4 separate regions of the Homo sapiens genome follow, and regions 2, 3 and 4 are each linked to region 1. The links are contacts of gene promoters, found by promoter capture Hi-C in blood cells and fetal thymus (Javierre and others, 2016). All regions are on one chromosome and are shown on one strand. The core of a region is centred on a gene start or on the middle of the fragment in contact, and the rest is flanking DNA. Distances in the headings are between cores, read along the strand shown.

Evidence for each region. The method cuts DNA at HindIII sites, captures the fragments that hold promoters and counts their contacts. A CHiCAGO score of 5 or more calls a contact.
Region 2: a fragment that was not itself captured here is called in contact with the fragment with the promoter of LINC02906 in region 1 in 1 of 17 cell types (M0 macrophages); the score reaches 5.2 in M0 macrophages.
Region 3: a contact is called between a fragment that was not itself captured here and the fragment with the promoter of LINC02906 in region 1, in 1 of 17 cell types (M0 macrophages). The highest score is 5.8, in M0 macrophages.
Region 4: a contact is called between a fragment that was not itself captured here and the fragment with the promoter of LINC02906 in region 1, in 1 of 17 cell types (M2 macrophages). The highest score is 5.9, in M2 macrophages.

What each region holds. Positions count from the first base shown.
Region 1 is chr8:93,164,858-93,168,490 of GRCh38, reverse strand. LINC02906 (long intergenic non-protein coding RNA 2906) reads left to right here and starts at 1,641. Exons shown (of 3, transcript NR_161372.1): 1 at 1,641-1,760. It overlaps LOC105375644 (a long non-coding RNA gene), which reads right to left. Exons shown (of 5, transcript XR_928417.1): 4 at 1,480-1,601. The HindIII fragment of the contact is 1,956 bases long and covers 1,396-3,351 here.
Region 2 is chr8:91,963,154-91,966,786 of GRCh38, reverse strand. The region is part of intron 11 of RUNX1T1 (RUNX1 partner transcriptional co-repressor 1); the gene reads left to right. Among named protein-coding and RNA genes, the nearest start is that of RUNX1T1, 140 kb to the left of the region's middle. The HindIII fragment of the contact is 1,870 bases long and covers 772-2,641 here.
Region 3 is chr8:92,070,488-92,074,120 of GRCh38, reverse strand. All of the region lies in intron 2 of RUNX1T1 (RUNX1 partner transcriptional co-repressor 1), which reads left to right. Among named protein-coding and RNA genes, the nearest start is that of RUNX1T1, 31 kb to the left of the region's middle. RefSeq lists an enhancer at 1,919-2,418. The HindIII fragment of the contact is 4,222 bases long and covers 1-3,633 here.
Region 4 is chr8:92,089,459-92,093,091 of GRCh38, reverse strand. The region is part of intron 1 of RUNX1T1 (RUNX1 partner transcriptional co-repressor 1); the gene reads left to right. Among named protein-coding and RNA genes, the nearest start is that of RUNX1T1, 12 kb to the left of the region's middle. The HindIII fragment of the contact is 2,183 bases long and covers 692-2,874 here.

The DNA.
Region 1 (3,633 bases), core at 392-2,891:
ATCAGCCCCCTCCTGAATACTGGCTCCTAATTCTGTAGTATGCCAGTGGCATTAGGAACACAGGCTTATATTTGCTCTTTCCATGAAGTAATTGCTGGTTCTGTTTATCTCCTTCTGCTTCCTGACACATAATGATTAGAGGTGCAAGCACTGGTGCAAGCATTCTGGGTTGGAATCCAGATGTCATCTACTAGCTAGTTTGGATTAGATACTAACTTTTTTAAACCTCAGCTGTCTCATTAGCAATTTGGGGATCATCATAGCACCTAAATGAAGGGATTATCCTGAGGATTTAAATGAATAATGTGTATAACTCATTTAGCACTGTGTCTGCATAGTAAACTCTGACAGATTAGATATTATTATTATTATCAGTATTAACCTTTCACTTTTTAAAATTTCTTCTTACATTCTCTTTCTCCCTAATTTATTTAGAATAGAGCATCATCTATTTTGATTCTCATCTATCCACTTTCCCTATTCTCACCCTCCTTTCCATCATGCTACAGACCAAAGTAGATGGTGGCAGAGTGCCTGGGTACGTTTATGATTTCCAAGAGTGCTCTTAAAAGCTAACATGCAAATTGAAGAGAGGTAATAGCTTGATCTAAAATGAGAAAGACTTGTGTTCTCACATATTAGACAAAAGCCTTAAAACTTCTCTAGTATCTAGCAAAATAGTCTGTATTTAGATCTGGTATTAAATAAAATATTTTTGACCAGGATGGTGAGAAAAAGTCTGTTCACTTCACATACAGGTCTAGCATACAATGTAATTACAAATAACCTCCCACAGGAGTGGCTGCAAAGGTGGCTCTGTGCAATTAATGGTAATGCTGTGTGTCATTTATTACCTGTGTTATTTAATCTTTAGTCTTCAATTTGTGAACTTCCTTTAGTTATGAAATTTCATGACTAAATAAAAAGAGCTTTGGTGAGGTGGGCATACCAATTTAAAAGTTCTTTTTGTATTATCAGTTTATTGAGTTATATACATAGAATTACACCGATAAATGAGTACACTAACATATTACAGAGTGATAAAGACTAAAAGAACACATTTACATAAAGTTCCTAGCACAAAGTAGGTCCTCAAAAAATGATGAATTCTTCTGAGATCAGATGAGAGTGTTGACCTGGAGGTATAAACTGAGAAAGGAAAGGAAGAAACATCAGGAACCTACTTCTTAACTCCTTAGAATATCCTATTTCCTGACCCAGAGGTGGAGAATGGCCTCAAGCTGGAGACAAAAAAGACCCTGATGTTGGGCTGTGGACCAAATATCCCACTTTACTCAAGATACCATTTCCAAGTCACATACTGTGGTAATTAACGCTATGTTAGTGACACTTCTGTAATGGGTTACAGATTGTTGCTGTGGTGTATACAAAGCTTATTGGATAAATGTCTTTAGGAAAGGAAAAGACATTAGTCTCTTAGTGATCAATAGGATAATAAATTGTGCTTTGTTTCTTTACCTGGATTTCATGTTTATCTTTAGAATAAATGTTAGCTTGCTCACTGCTTCTGTGGTTTCGAGGCTTGCAGTGTTGTGAAACACATAATCTTTTTCTTCACAGTTAGCAAATCCTTAGCTTCTCTGCTGGACAAATAGTCATGTGAGTAGAGAGAACATAAAATCAAAGCAACAAGAAGCTAGGGCAGAGGATTTAGAGGGCAAGCAAGCATGGGCCAGGACTTTGACAGCATTCATCCAGCAGCATGCGAACTCCAAAGAGAACCCGATCTCCAAAGACAAGTAAGTATCCATTTTCTACCCACCAAAAACACCCACATTTTCCCCTCCAAGATGCTCAGGACTCTGTGACTTATTTTGGAGGAATTGTCCCTTTATCACATTGTCAATATTCATAAAATGGCAGGTTTCTGACTACCCAGTACTTAAGAGCAAATACAAGTAACTTTTTAAAATAATAGCAACTTAACTATGTTATCCATTCAGCTCTAGTTCAGATGTAATCAGGACTTAAGATTCTGTAAGAGCCCATGTGGAAATGTTTGTCATTAGCAAGGGTATAAAAGGAAGAGAGGAGAGTTTTGTTGTTTCTTTTCCTCTTTGCCTTCTTTTATCAGAGTAATTGAAACAATCAGCTTCCTGACATCCTAAAAGATAATGATTCAGCCATAAAGAATGGGAAGAGAGGGCGGGGTGCAGTAGGTCACGCCTGTAATCCTAGCACTTTGGGAGGCTGAGGCGGGCGGATCACGAGGTCAGGAGATCGAGACCATCCTGGCTAACACGGTGAAACCCTGTCTCTACTAAAAGTACAAAAAATTAGCTGGGCGTGGTGGCGGGCGCCTGTAGTCCCAGCTACTCGGGACGCTGAGGCAGGAGAATGGTGTGAACCTGGGAGACGGAGCTTGCAGTGAGACGAGATTGCACCACCGCACTCCAGCCTGGGCGACAGGGCAAGACTCCATCTCCAAAAAAAAAAAAAAAAAAAAAATGAAAGAAGGAATGGGAAAAGAGAATGTAAAATACACCTTTATAGCTTTTTCTTTTGATTTTCCTCTCTACTGACCCATTCTGAAAGAAGGAGTTATCTATTACATTCTTTGCCCCACTTTGGTTAGCTGGCAGAAATAGAGAGATTTCTCTCCTTTTCCCTTTTGCCCCCTAGTAAATAAAATCTGTCCAACATTGATTGTAAATGTAGACAATCATCAACAGATTCTTTGAAATCAAAGTTAAAATTAAACATACTCAAGTGTAGCCAGTAGTCCTTCCAGACGAGAATGTAACATGGAGGCATGGACATTATTTAACAAATATTTATGATCTTCCTACTGTGTGCCAGGCACTCTGCTAGCATCTTGAATCAGAATGGAGGTATTCAGAAGGAACAATTTCAAACCAAAGAGGAGGACCAATTGCAAGATGATTTTAATTTTCCTCACAAATGTTATAAAGAGTATGTCTTTTTTAGTAACCTTCCACACAAATGGGTGTGTTGATGAACAAATGCAGATAAGATGTGCATGGCTTTCACTGAGTTGCATTTATATGCCTCATTATTTCTACATAAATATGCCCAGCCTGGCTTTTGTTCACTGCCATTTAGAGTGATGGTGATTAAAGTAAATACAAAAGTACAAATAAGAATGCTTTAAAACAATGGTGTAATCATTACTAATTCATTTTATATTTATTGTAGTATTAGCTCTAATGAACCTTCTTGATATTAATGTGGGTGTTATAAGTACTCTAAATTTTTTACTGTGTCAGTATTAATTAAATGAATGGTTATTATTACCTGTGTAATGGGCCTAGGAGGGATATTATTTTGGTGTTTATAAAAATCAATAGTAATGCTTTAATAGTAAAAGCTTGTTTTTATTTTTTCATGTTGATTATTGGTACTGCTTAATTAATGTGTGCTTATTGTACAATAATATAGTTAGGCAGATTCCAAGCTCGTGATATTCTTGTAAGGTCTTCTCTGCCCACCGAAGACAGAGAAAACCATATTAAAGTAGCCCTGAGATGGAGTAAACTTTTTTTGGTAACTCTTTGAAATTGATAGCCCATGTGTGGTTTATACAGAATGCTCTCAATTAACCAATTATTAGAACAATCAGCATATTTTCCTGACAGTAAGTTAAATAAGCTG
Region 2 (3,633 bases), core at 457-2,956, 1.2 Mb after region 1:
ATCTAAGCAATGTGATGCTTACTGTACTTTCTCTTTTCCCAGTGGATTATATATTTAACCCAGAATATAATGCCAACATTAGCATAAATCAGAAATTTACTGAATCTGATCATCTTAAATTCTTTTATTTTCTCCATATTTATTTCTATTTTTCATTTCCTATCTGTGTACAGATAAAGCTTTTTCCAATGAATGCTCTCAGATTGCAGCTATTTCCAAGGAAACTTCTACAGCTTTCTTTGAGATCCATACCTTATACTAGCTTAGGTGATTGAAGCAAGAAACTGCAAGTGAGCACAGAAACAGATAAATACTTTTATTGTTCTAATAGTTTAGAGTTTTAAACTACCAAAGTGATGTTTTTCCCCCAGATTAAAACAGCCTTTATTTATCATTCTTATATAGGTGCAGAGCTGCACAGTTATACCAACCTCAGTGGAATCTGTGAAGTTTGGCCCAAACTGGAAATGCCACCTGTGTAGACTCTGAATAAAACATAGGGACCTCACAGCATGGGTCCTGTCAAAGCCTTCACAATCTCATCAGACCAGTTGATTCCCAGAAAAATTTGGAGCTCTCAGAGCATGAGCTATGATGCTATGTTACATATATATATATATATAGTTATACAATATACAATATGTACAATTATATATATATATTTTATAAATATATATATATATGCCAGCTGTTTGATTCCGTAGATGTTCATGGTATAGTAGACAGGGCACTGGGCTAGGATTGACCTTTGGTTGCTCACCTCTTGAAGCTTTGGTTTTCTCATCTGCAAAATTTGGGATAACGTTTCTGTGATCTGCCTGCTTTGCAAGGTGGTGGAGAGGTGCCAATGAGATGAGGAGAAGTATTTTATTAAAAGAAAAGTCACCTTACAAATGAGCAGTGTGTCTATGTAAGAACGAAAGAGGAAAACGGAGAAGAAAAACAGTTAAGAAATGATCCTAACAGGAAGGGTGGCGAGAGAATTAGAGTAGTGACTATGCGATTGAAAAGGAGAGAGACCACAGAAGTAGTCTGTGGGGTTTGGCACTGAATGGTTCCAGGGGCTAAAGAAAGAGGGGTTTGCAATAAAGTGACAAAGTCTTGGGCATGAGTGTTGCCAAAGACTGAAATGGACCCACCAGAGTTGGGTTTAGGGAATACTGACTTAGAGGAGCATCCTGGTGGAGGTACCTACAGAACAGGCAGTTGAAATAGGAGCACAAAGCTCAGGAAGAAGATAACAAGGAGAAACAGGTTTGAGAGTAATTTGCTTACAGCTGATCATTGAAACCACAAGATCTCACAAGGGGCAGCATGAGAAGGAAAAGATATTCCTTTTCTTTATGCCAGCATCCCTCCCTCCCTCACTGTCAACTACAGGGAAAAGAACAAACAGCAGAAGAAGTTATTGTATAAGAAAGAGAATTTTAGTAGGGGAAATTTCAACAAGAGGCATTTAATAAGGAAGAACGGGGAAGTAATCAGCAATGGTAAATCTTCAGAAATTTTGAGGACAGCAAATGAAGTTGCGGAAGAAATTATTAGTCACTAATGAAGTATGAGGAGAAGTAAGTTAATGTTCTTCTCCTGTAGCTGTCAGTGCCCATGGGTGATAGCACTTAATTTGAATGGGACCATCAGCCTTCTAATTCTAAAGGTTGTAAGGTGCTGGATCTGGAGCAAGGACTGTATCTACTCTCTCTTTCTTCCAGTCAGTACCAAAAGGAGGGAGTGGTGGTAGTACCTGCCATTTATTCAGGACCTATGAACATCATGCACTGTGCTTAGCACTGACATAACCCTGAATAATCCTGCAGTTATTATTCCTGCTTTACATGTTCTGTTGCTCCAAGGGTTAAGTAAGTGGCTTGTGGTTCTAAAGCCACAAAGTGATGAAGTTGGAAATGAAATGAAGTTGGCCTGGCTTTTGAAGCCTGTGCCATTTTCATTACACACTCTGACACCTTGTCTTTGCTGCCTCTGACTTTATGGTTCAATTTCTGTCCATTTTTGGGAGTTAAGTGCCTGCTAACCTGTTCTTGCCACAATGAGAGCTAATAAAAGATCTGAAGTTGACAAAGTGTGGCATTTTAGAAAGAATATTTTTAATTTGTAATCCAAACATCTGGGTGAATCAAACTTTGGCTATGTAATTTTATATTTTTGTGACTTGGGGCAAGCCTTTTACTGTGAAAATTATTTATTTTGAGGGTCCCAGTTTCTGAAACTGCAATCATGTGAAAATGATTTTAAATTGTCAAGTGCAATGCAAGTAGATGATGATGCAATCTTAATGTGAATTTAAGTCAATGTGTTGCCTTCTGTAGGATTCTTAACATTTGAGGAGTTTCAATTACAATCATTCTATTATATTTAAATTTATTACACATCGATTTTGTGCAAGTTTTTCTGAAGAATTATAGATATGTAAGACCTGGAGAGACTTAAAGCAGTTCAGAGACAAAATAAAAGATATTTTGTCCTTCAGAAAAAGATTTTTCTGCAGTAAGAACCAGAAGGGATATATGCCTGTACGACAGAAAGATCATTCTCTAAATGTTTTTCTTAGGGACAAAGAGAAATGCTGATTTGAAACAAAGTGTCGAATACCTTCAGTATGCAGTGTTGGCATTCAAAAGCTTCAGTCCATTGATTCTGTATATAGCCTTGTATTTAGTATATTTAGCAAAGGGGAGGTTCGTGTTCAGCCACAAATTCTTCATCTGAGTCACAACCTAACTTTGGTCAATTGACTTATTCTTACTTTTCAGATAGGGAGGAAAATATTCTTTATGCCAAAAAGGGAATAACATTATCACAAATAAAGGAATACTATAAAGTGCCATGAGCTTTGGGAATGAAATTTGCTGTGATATGGATATCCGTGAGCTTTCTACACTATTATGGTAATTTCAGTGACATCACTCCTTAGAGGCCTGAAAGGGAAGCTCAGTCATTTAAAAATAAATAAATAAAACAATTATCAGGAAATAGTATCTTGAATATAAAATGCACAAACTGCAAAATGTAAAATTAGATTAAGCCATTGACTGCCTTTATCCCAGCCCTTGTGGATAGACACGTGGCTGTTAGACACAGTTTGCAATTTCCACCTTTGTGAACAGTAGAAAGCTTAGAATGATCCAAATTGGAGTACTCAAAAGATTCTGCACCTTCCGCTGTTTCCAGAATTGTGACTATTCAGGGGCTGAGTGCCACTGATCAGGCATCAGTCTTGCAGGTATGGATTAGCCAACAGTAAATTCACTAGAGCATCCAAGAGAAATATATTAATAGAAATTGCTCTTTCAGTTTTCTAATGAGCTTTTAAGAATGAATATGCGCATTGGAGCGTTTGTTAGTTGAACACTCACTAAAGTTCCCTACACATTCACTGCAATGCAATGTCAAGAGAAATAAAAATTTGCAGATTTTTTTTTAACCAGATCATTAAAATTGCTCTTTTTGTAACTTCCTACAGCTGAAGGTTGTTTTTTCTTTTGTCCCAGTGGTGGGTGGTAAATGAATAGTATCAAACAACTTGAGAATGAAACTAGAGGTAAAACTAGCCAGACCCCTTAACTCCTGGATCAGAACCAGACAATACTATGCAAGAAGGCTCAATTCCCAGCA
Region 3 (3,633 bases), core at 576-3,075, 1.1 Mb after region 1:
TGTGTGGTGTGTGTACATACTTTAAACATGATGTCTGTATACACATATACATATTTGTATTGACCTATTTTGTAACTGTTGGGTTTTCTTTGTTTTCCATGTGGCATTAAAAATTTACTTCTAGGCCAGGCATGGTGGCTCATACCTATAATCCCAGCACTTTGAGGGGCTGAGGCAGGAGGATTGCTTGAACTCAGGAGTTCTAGACCAGTCTGGGCAACAAAGTGAGACCCCATCTCTACAAAAAAATTAAAAATTCAGGCGAGTGTGATGGCACATGCCTGTAGTCCCAGCTACTTGGGAGGCTAAAGTGGGAGGATTGCTCGAGCCCAGGAATTCGTGGCTGCAGTGAGCGATGATTGCACCGTTTTACTCCTGCCTGGGCAACAGCAAGGCCCTGTTTTTAAATAAATGAAAAAATATACTAACAATAATAATTACTCCTAATTTTTTTTTCCTCTTTGTAATAATATTAGGTGTATAGAAATATGGGGTTCAAACTCAAGAAGTTGGGAAAACAGAAATCACATACTTTACATTTTAGAACACCTGGAATCCATTGGGCTCTTAGAGTTTTGGAGTTGTAATTTAGAAGCAGATAAAGCAAAGGACTATCCATGGCTGAACAGTCGGCATTGTGAGTGAGAATGGCCTGAGGTGGCGCCAGAGAGTCTGGTCTGCGTAGCAAGTTTGAAGCAGGCTGGGGTCTCCTGGAGATGGGCCTCTGTTAGGGCAGAGGCTGGGGGGCAGGAGGGTGGGAAATGATACTAAAGGGGTATGCCACCAGCTTGGGTGGAAGCTGGTAAAATGAGAACGCTGTTGTGTTTCCCACCTGGTGTTTTAAAGCATACCCAAGGTACACACAGTGCTTGGTCCTCTAGAATGCCATTTGGAGCCGTTCTCCTGTAATGCCTGCCATTGTAGGGACCAGACAGATTTGGGACACCTAGGAGTGGTAGTCTGGCCTGAGGAGCTTGCTATCATAAGCCATTGAGGACAATTCTAAGAAGGGTGTAGTATTTGACATATTAAAAAGATCCATATGTTTTCTAAAAGATGTAAGAGGAAGCAGCTTGGGAGGAAAGAATGACAGGAAACTTTTTTTGCAAAGAGTGCCTGTTTATGTTCATGCATATCATGGAATGGGATATATAGGTAGTATCAATTTTTACATATTGTGTGGGTTTCAAAAGCCACATTTGTATTTTGAAAAAGAGGTATTTTTAAAATGCTGATATAGATGATGCTGTGCACCTTTATATATTGGTATCTTTGTTAGGAAGAGGAAAGTTATTTTATTAAGTAAAATTGCTGCTTTTAGAGAGTATCTGCTCTTATTTTTAGTTTTTCTTGGTCATGTTTGAGGGGTCTGATAGCATTAATGGGCTTTACCCCACATGGAGCTTTGAGCTTATTGTAGCACTGCACACTGATCCCAGGTCAGTGTGATGCGTGAAATCAATTTATTTGAATCTCTTTGCCTCTATAGGAATTTGGCAGCATGCCAGTTGTTTTCATTTAATGTTCTTTGTGTTGAACACAGACAAGCAGGCATGCTTTTGTATTCTTCTCTCTTTTGGTCTCTGTCTCTTTCAGCCAATATTTTACTGTATGGATTTTGAGATGAAAGAAGAGTATATCATTTATATGATTCTAATCATTGTTTAATTATATATATGTATATAAATATACCACTTTCTTATCTTTTAAAGGATATGTTTGATATTCCTGAGTTTGGTGACTTTGCACACACAAAATATTTTAGAGTTTTGTTTAAATAAAATTTTTGGTGAAACATAATAAACCAGATCATAGATGGTATTTGCTTACATTAATTACCACTATCAAAATTTAAAATAACAATGTTAATTATGTAACACAACAAATGTTTAATTTGTAAACTGGACTATCAAAATCATTTATTTCTTGGTGAGCCTTCTTTGAATTTGAAGATTTACACTTTAATCAAGCATGTTAAAAATTATAATTATTTGAGTACAATTTTCTTTGATCCATCTTGATTAAGATACCAGCGTTTTACACAGATTTGCTGTATATGAATTTTTATGAAGTTTCTGCCATTAAGGTACTTTTTTGTTTTTTAAAATTTGGAGGGTAATGACTGGGAATAGCATAGAGATTTTTATGACAAATAAAATCAGACCTTTCTCTGGATGTTTTTATAGGCAGGACTTGTTTCTGGGTCAGCTTTAGGAAGAGGTGGAGAAGGAAATGAGAGAGAGTGAGAGGAGAATGTTCTGTTGATGCTCCGGGCAGTTCTTGCGGAAGTTGATATGCAGAACCATGGAGCCGCAGCTTCGGGGTCAGGCTCATACCCAGCAGCCCTGCTTCCTTGTTTAATTACCTGAAGAGCAAAACAGTCAGGCTGGGAGTGTGTGAAAACCCAGTATCTCTCACAGCCGCCTGGCGCTCTGACATCCTGCAAGGCCAGCCCTGTCTGTCCGCCAGCGTCAGGCTGGCTCAAACCCTGGGTTCCTTTCTTTCGGGAGGCATTGTGTGGAAGAGGGTTTGGTCAGGAATTTGAGGTTCCTGCCAATGCTGTGTCCCCTGCTCTCCCCTTGTGGACCACACTGACAGACATGCTTGATTAAAAAAAAAAAAGATCTAAGAATTTGGCTCTATTTTACACTTCTGGCCTTGCTATGAAACAATCTGTTTCAGCAGCAACAGACGTTAACCAGTAGAGGGCTGGCCTTAGTTTGTTGGGTTCTTATTTTCTGAGTTCCCATTATATAGTGTCCTATGTGTGTTGCTCTTTTCCAGTCAGACTCATTAGTAGTCTGGTGTGGAGCTAGTAGCTCAGAGATTGCTTTTATGAGGCGGTTTTGGAATCTTCATCTGCCCATGAAAATAGAATAGTCCACTTTTAAAAAAAGGTGATAGAACTTTTGCACTTGAATGTTTTTTCCTTTTCTTGGAATTGGAATATGGTCTTTGACATTTGCTGTGGGAAGGGCCATACTCTTTGACGAAGCTGGAGGTGGTGAGAAATAATATTTGCACAGTAATGTGTGGCCAATTTGAGGGTAACATGGGATAAATATTCTGAGAAGTGCTTGGAGATGGAGCCATTTGGGAGATCCCATGAATATAAGAGGATTTTATCTTACCAAGAGGAAATCTGTCCACACAGTGGGCTGATGAAATGTCTTTGCTGTGGGTTGGGAAACAAAGGTGGTGGTGGTGGTGTTTCCTGCAAAGGCAGGGGAAAGTGTGACTACATGTGCAGTGATTTGGTTTTTCCAACTACTTCATTAGGATTCTGTCATGCAGACTGAAGGGCATTTACCCTTTAGATGCACATATGTGCCTCCCATTAATGTTAATAGGAGTTATGGGCATGTAAAGAGAGCAGTATATACCTTTGCCTAGTGCATAAGCACAGCTCCAAGGAATTGATTCTGTCCTTTGCAAAGAATAGAGATTGGGCTTTGCAGGGAAGATTTTGGTGGGAATTATTTTAAAAACTTGTTTTGCATATCACATGGAAGTAATGTCAATATTTTATATATTTGTTTACCACTCCAGTAAAACATATATAATAATTTAAATAATTGCATTAGCCTGGTGCGCCTTGTGATGGAGCTGGCATCATCGTGATCTATTATGCAC
Region 4 (3,633 bases), core at 534-3,033, 1.1 Mb after region 1:
TCAGAAGGCCAAAAGTGTCAATTCAGAAAAGGAAAGTGATAAGAGAAAATGCAATCAGTTTTCCTGTTTTCAATTTGTGCGGGATTTGAAGAGCTGTTTTGTTAAACTGCTACATCTGCTCCAATATGAATATTGAACTACTTCCACTAAAAATAACAACCTATAATTTGGAAGCTACTGCAGTCTTTTGTTAATGTGAGTGGGTTATTTAAAAACAAAAAAACAAAAAAATAAAAAAAAAATTTTCTATTCTGACAATCTCTTGCCTAATGTGCATTTTCATTTGTTGGCACTTTTATCCTCAGCAGATAAATGGTAGTATGCAATTAAGACCTCATCTTGTTTGACTATAAAAGAGGTTTCCATAGGTGAAAATCCTGGTAATAAAAAGGGGTTCACACAAAACAAAATTTATTTTAAAATAACCTGTTTAAATACATGTATTGAAAATCAGATAGTTATTCCTTACATTCTCTAATACTACAATTTTTAACTTACTGCCGGACTGTTGTAACAAAGTTAACACTGTTCTTGCATACTGAGCATTCCGAGATTTATTTTACCTTTAATATACCTGCAAATGTAAGTTTAAACTAATCAGGGATATTTTACTAACAGGGCTTTCAGAATAATCTTTTCCATGCTTAAATAAAATGATTAAATTATGCTTGAGTGCCTGCATACAAAAGCTTTAGCTTCTATAGTACTGCTAATCAAATAAGTTTTATGGACAGGGAAAGCACCACATAGAGAAAAATTGGATGCATTTTACTAGTGACATTGCTAGGAAAGACATGTTCTTTTAAAATTATCTAATTTTAATTAAAAAGGAAACTCTTAAGATGTCTTAAATAATCATAATAAAAATAATACTGCGTCCTTATAACAAGAAAGTGAATGGCAACGCTATCCATATAAAACATGGGCAGAGAGAATTAAACTAGAAGGAAGGAAGACTGGTGAAATTTGGATGAGGTTCAATACTGACTCAACCTTGGATTGCAGTTTGGTGGGCTTGTGGCTATAGTAATTTGTCTGGGGTGAGACCTGATCACTGCTGAGGATCAATTAGCTGAGTTTGTGGCTTCACATGTGAATTGCTAGACACACTCTTCACAGATAAACTCAAAATATTTCAGGAATGTATAAAGGGGAAGGCAGGCACAGTGACACCTTAGCATGTTTGATATTAACAAATGCAGTGTTTCTTCTAAAACACCAACTCAAAAGAAGAGGTAGTTTGAAGAACAATGTTGAATGTGAGTATTTGCGATTACATGTATGGAACCAACCAAAGAAGTATGCTTTTAAGGAATGCAGTTTCCAGTTTCAAGCCCAAAGAACAGTTCAGTATGGCATGTCATGCTGGCATATCTTAAAGAGAGCTGGGCATCATGCGGCTATTTCCTCCAATATAGCACCAGTTTCTGACACTTTTAAGAAAAGATGCTGAATCACATATCAGTGTACAAAAAGTTTATTCACAGACATAATCCCTTCACTTGGGATGTGATCTTCTAATGAGAGTTGTTTTTGAAGCCACGGTACCTTACATGACACCAACAGGGGAGATTCCTGTGCCTCTTTTTGAAATGTTGATACTTGATGAAATCATGTCCAGGCTCTTACATCAGAACTACTGGTAAAGTAATGTCCCATGGTTGATGTTTAAAGTGTAAGACCTGCTTGTTTGAAAGAGCTTAAAACTGTCAATGTTGCCTACAACTACTAATATTTTCAAGGACCAAGAGATACCAACTTAAAATCATCTCCTTTAATAGTTCTAATTGTGATTACCTTTATAAAGTAATTCATGAAGGAATAAAGCAGGCATTTGTTTTGGTCGGTTTCATATCGATCAAGGCCTCTAAAGCAAATCACTATTTGGATGAATAGGGCCTTTAGAATATAGATCTTGTAGAAGAGGAATGCAGAGGGCACAAATGTGAAGTTTTCCCGTTGTGTCTCCAGCAATCTAAGCACCTCTAAGTGCCTTGGGGAATGTGATTGACTGGGTTCATTAATCTTTTAACACCTGGGGCACAGACCACTTCTAAGTGTGCTCAGGGCTCTTGAGGGCTGCTACTTAGTTGTTGGTCTTGGGAGAGAGGAGAGGAATTGATAAATACTAGAGACCTACTATGAGCCTGTCCTTCACCAACCTTCACATACATTCTCATCACTGATTTTAAGTAATTGATTAACCAGTGTTTCACTTTCTTCATTTCAAAGAACTCCAGCCCATTGCTCTGAGACTCTTGCCATAGTTACTCTTCTGGCTTGATCTTTTGCCCCAATTTAGAAAATTGAGGTTTCTTCGTATTCCCCAAATTAATGACTTACTTTGTGCCTGAGCTTTAGTAATTATTTAGGACCTTATTCTCTGAAAAATTGGCTGCATATTCTCTTCAGTGGCCATTTCTACTCATCCATTGTTTTCTTTCAGTTATCCCCTCTTCACCCCCACTTAGGAATCAGAGTTGGCTTCTAGCTGACATATCCTTGGATACTCACAAGTGTGTGCTAGTCTATATTCCTCAGTACCACCTGATCCAGGCTTCTCTATTACCAAATTCTGTTCCTGCATCAGAATACCTTCATTCTACACTGCACTGAGGCCATGAGGATTTAATCTGTTTTTGTTGTTGTTGTTGTTGAACTTATCCAGTATGCTGGAGTGATTTTCTGCCCAGTCCTTAGTTCTTGAGTCTTGTTCCTTTCGTAGTTGGTCACTCCATTATATCTTGATCTCAGCATTTCCCAGTTGGCCAGGTTCAACTTCCTGGTTACCTCTTAAGATAAGGTTAGAGGACTTGTACACCACCTTTACTGCTGGAAAAAAAGAGTTTGTAACTAGTTTCATAGTGTAAAGCTTTCTCCGTATTAGAAAAAAAAAAAAAAGGACCTGGTGTCTGTGTGCAGTCGCTTGACTAATAGGCAAACTGAAGTTCCCTTTCCAGTTCAATCACTGACTTGCTGGGTGGCCTGGGGTGCATTCCAGCCCTCAGGCAAATTTCTCAGAAGGCGAAGGGCAGACTTGGTGATTCTTAGGCTTCCCAACTCTCATACGGACAAGTCTCTGTGTGATACTGAAAGTAGGCTTTGGGGCTTTCCCAGGGTTAGGAGAGTGAAAAAAAAATGCTTTTTTTTTTTTTTTTTTTTTTTTAAATTCAGGGATTGGGGTGGGTGACACTATAAATCTTCATCTAACTGGGAAAGGGATCAGTGTGGAATATTACTATCATTCCAGTCTTCTCCATCATAAAGAAGAGCCATTATGGACTAGGGAGCCATTCTTTCCATAGCTATCCTAAATCTTAGATGATTATCTGAAATTTTTGTTTTTACGATTCCTTTTTCAGAGGTGAATGATGTAGGAATAAATCTGTTTATGTAGTGAGGAGGGAACTAAAGAGTCTGGGTCTTGTCCAAGGAAAATTGCCTTTATGCTTTCGCCTCATAGTTACTGGACAAGATGATGAACTCAGCGCCTAGGGGTGGGAGTGAGGGGCTAGGGGCTGAGGTGGATGGGGTTGCTTGTGTTTAGCCAGGCATTCACCATACCCCCGGTCTCAAAGTTTGGACTCGCTTCACTTGGGAAATTTAGAAAATGACCTCTTTAAGCCATTTTTT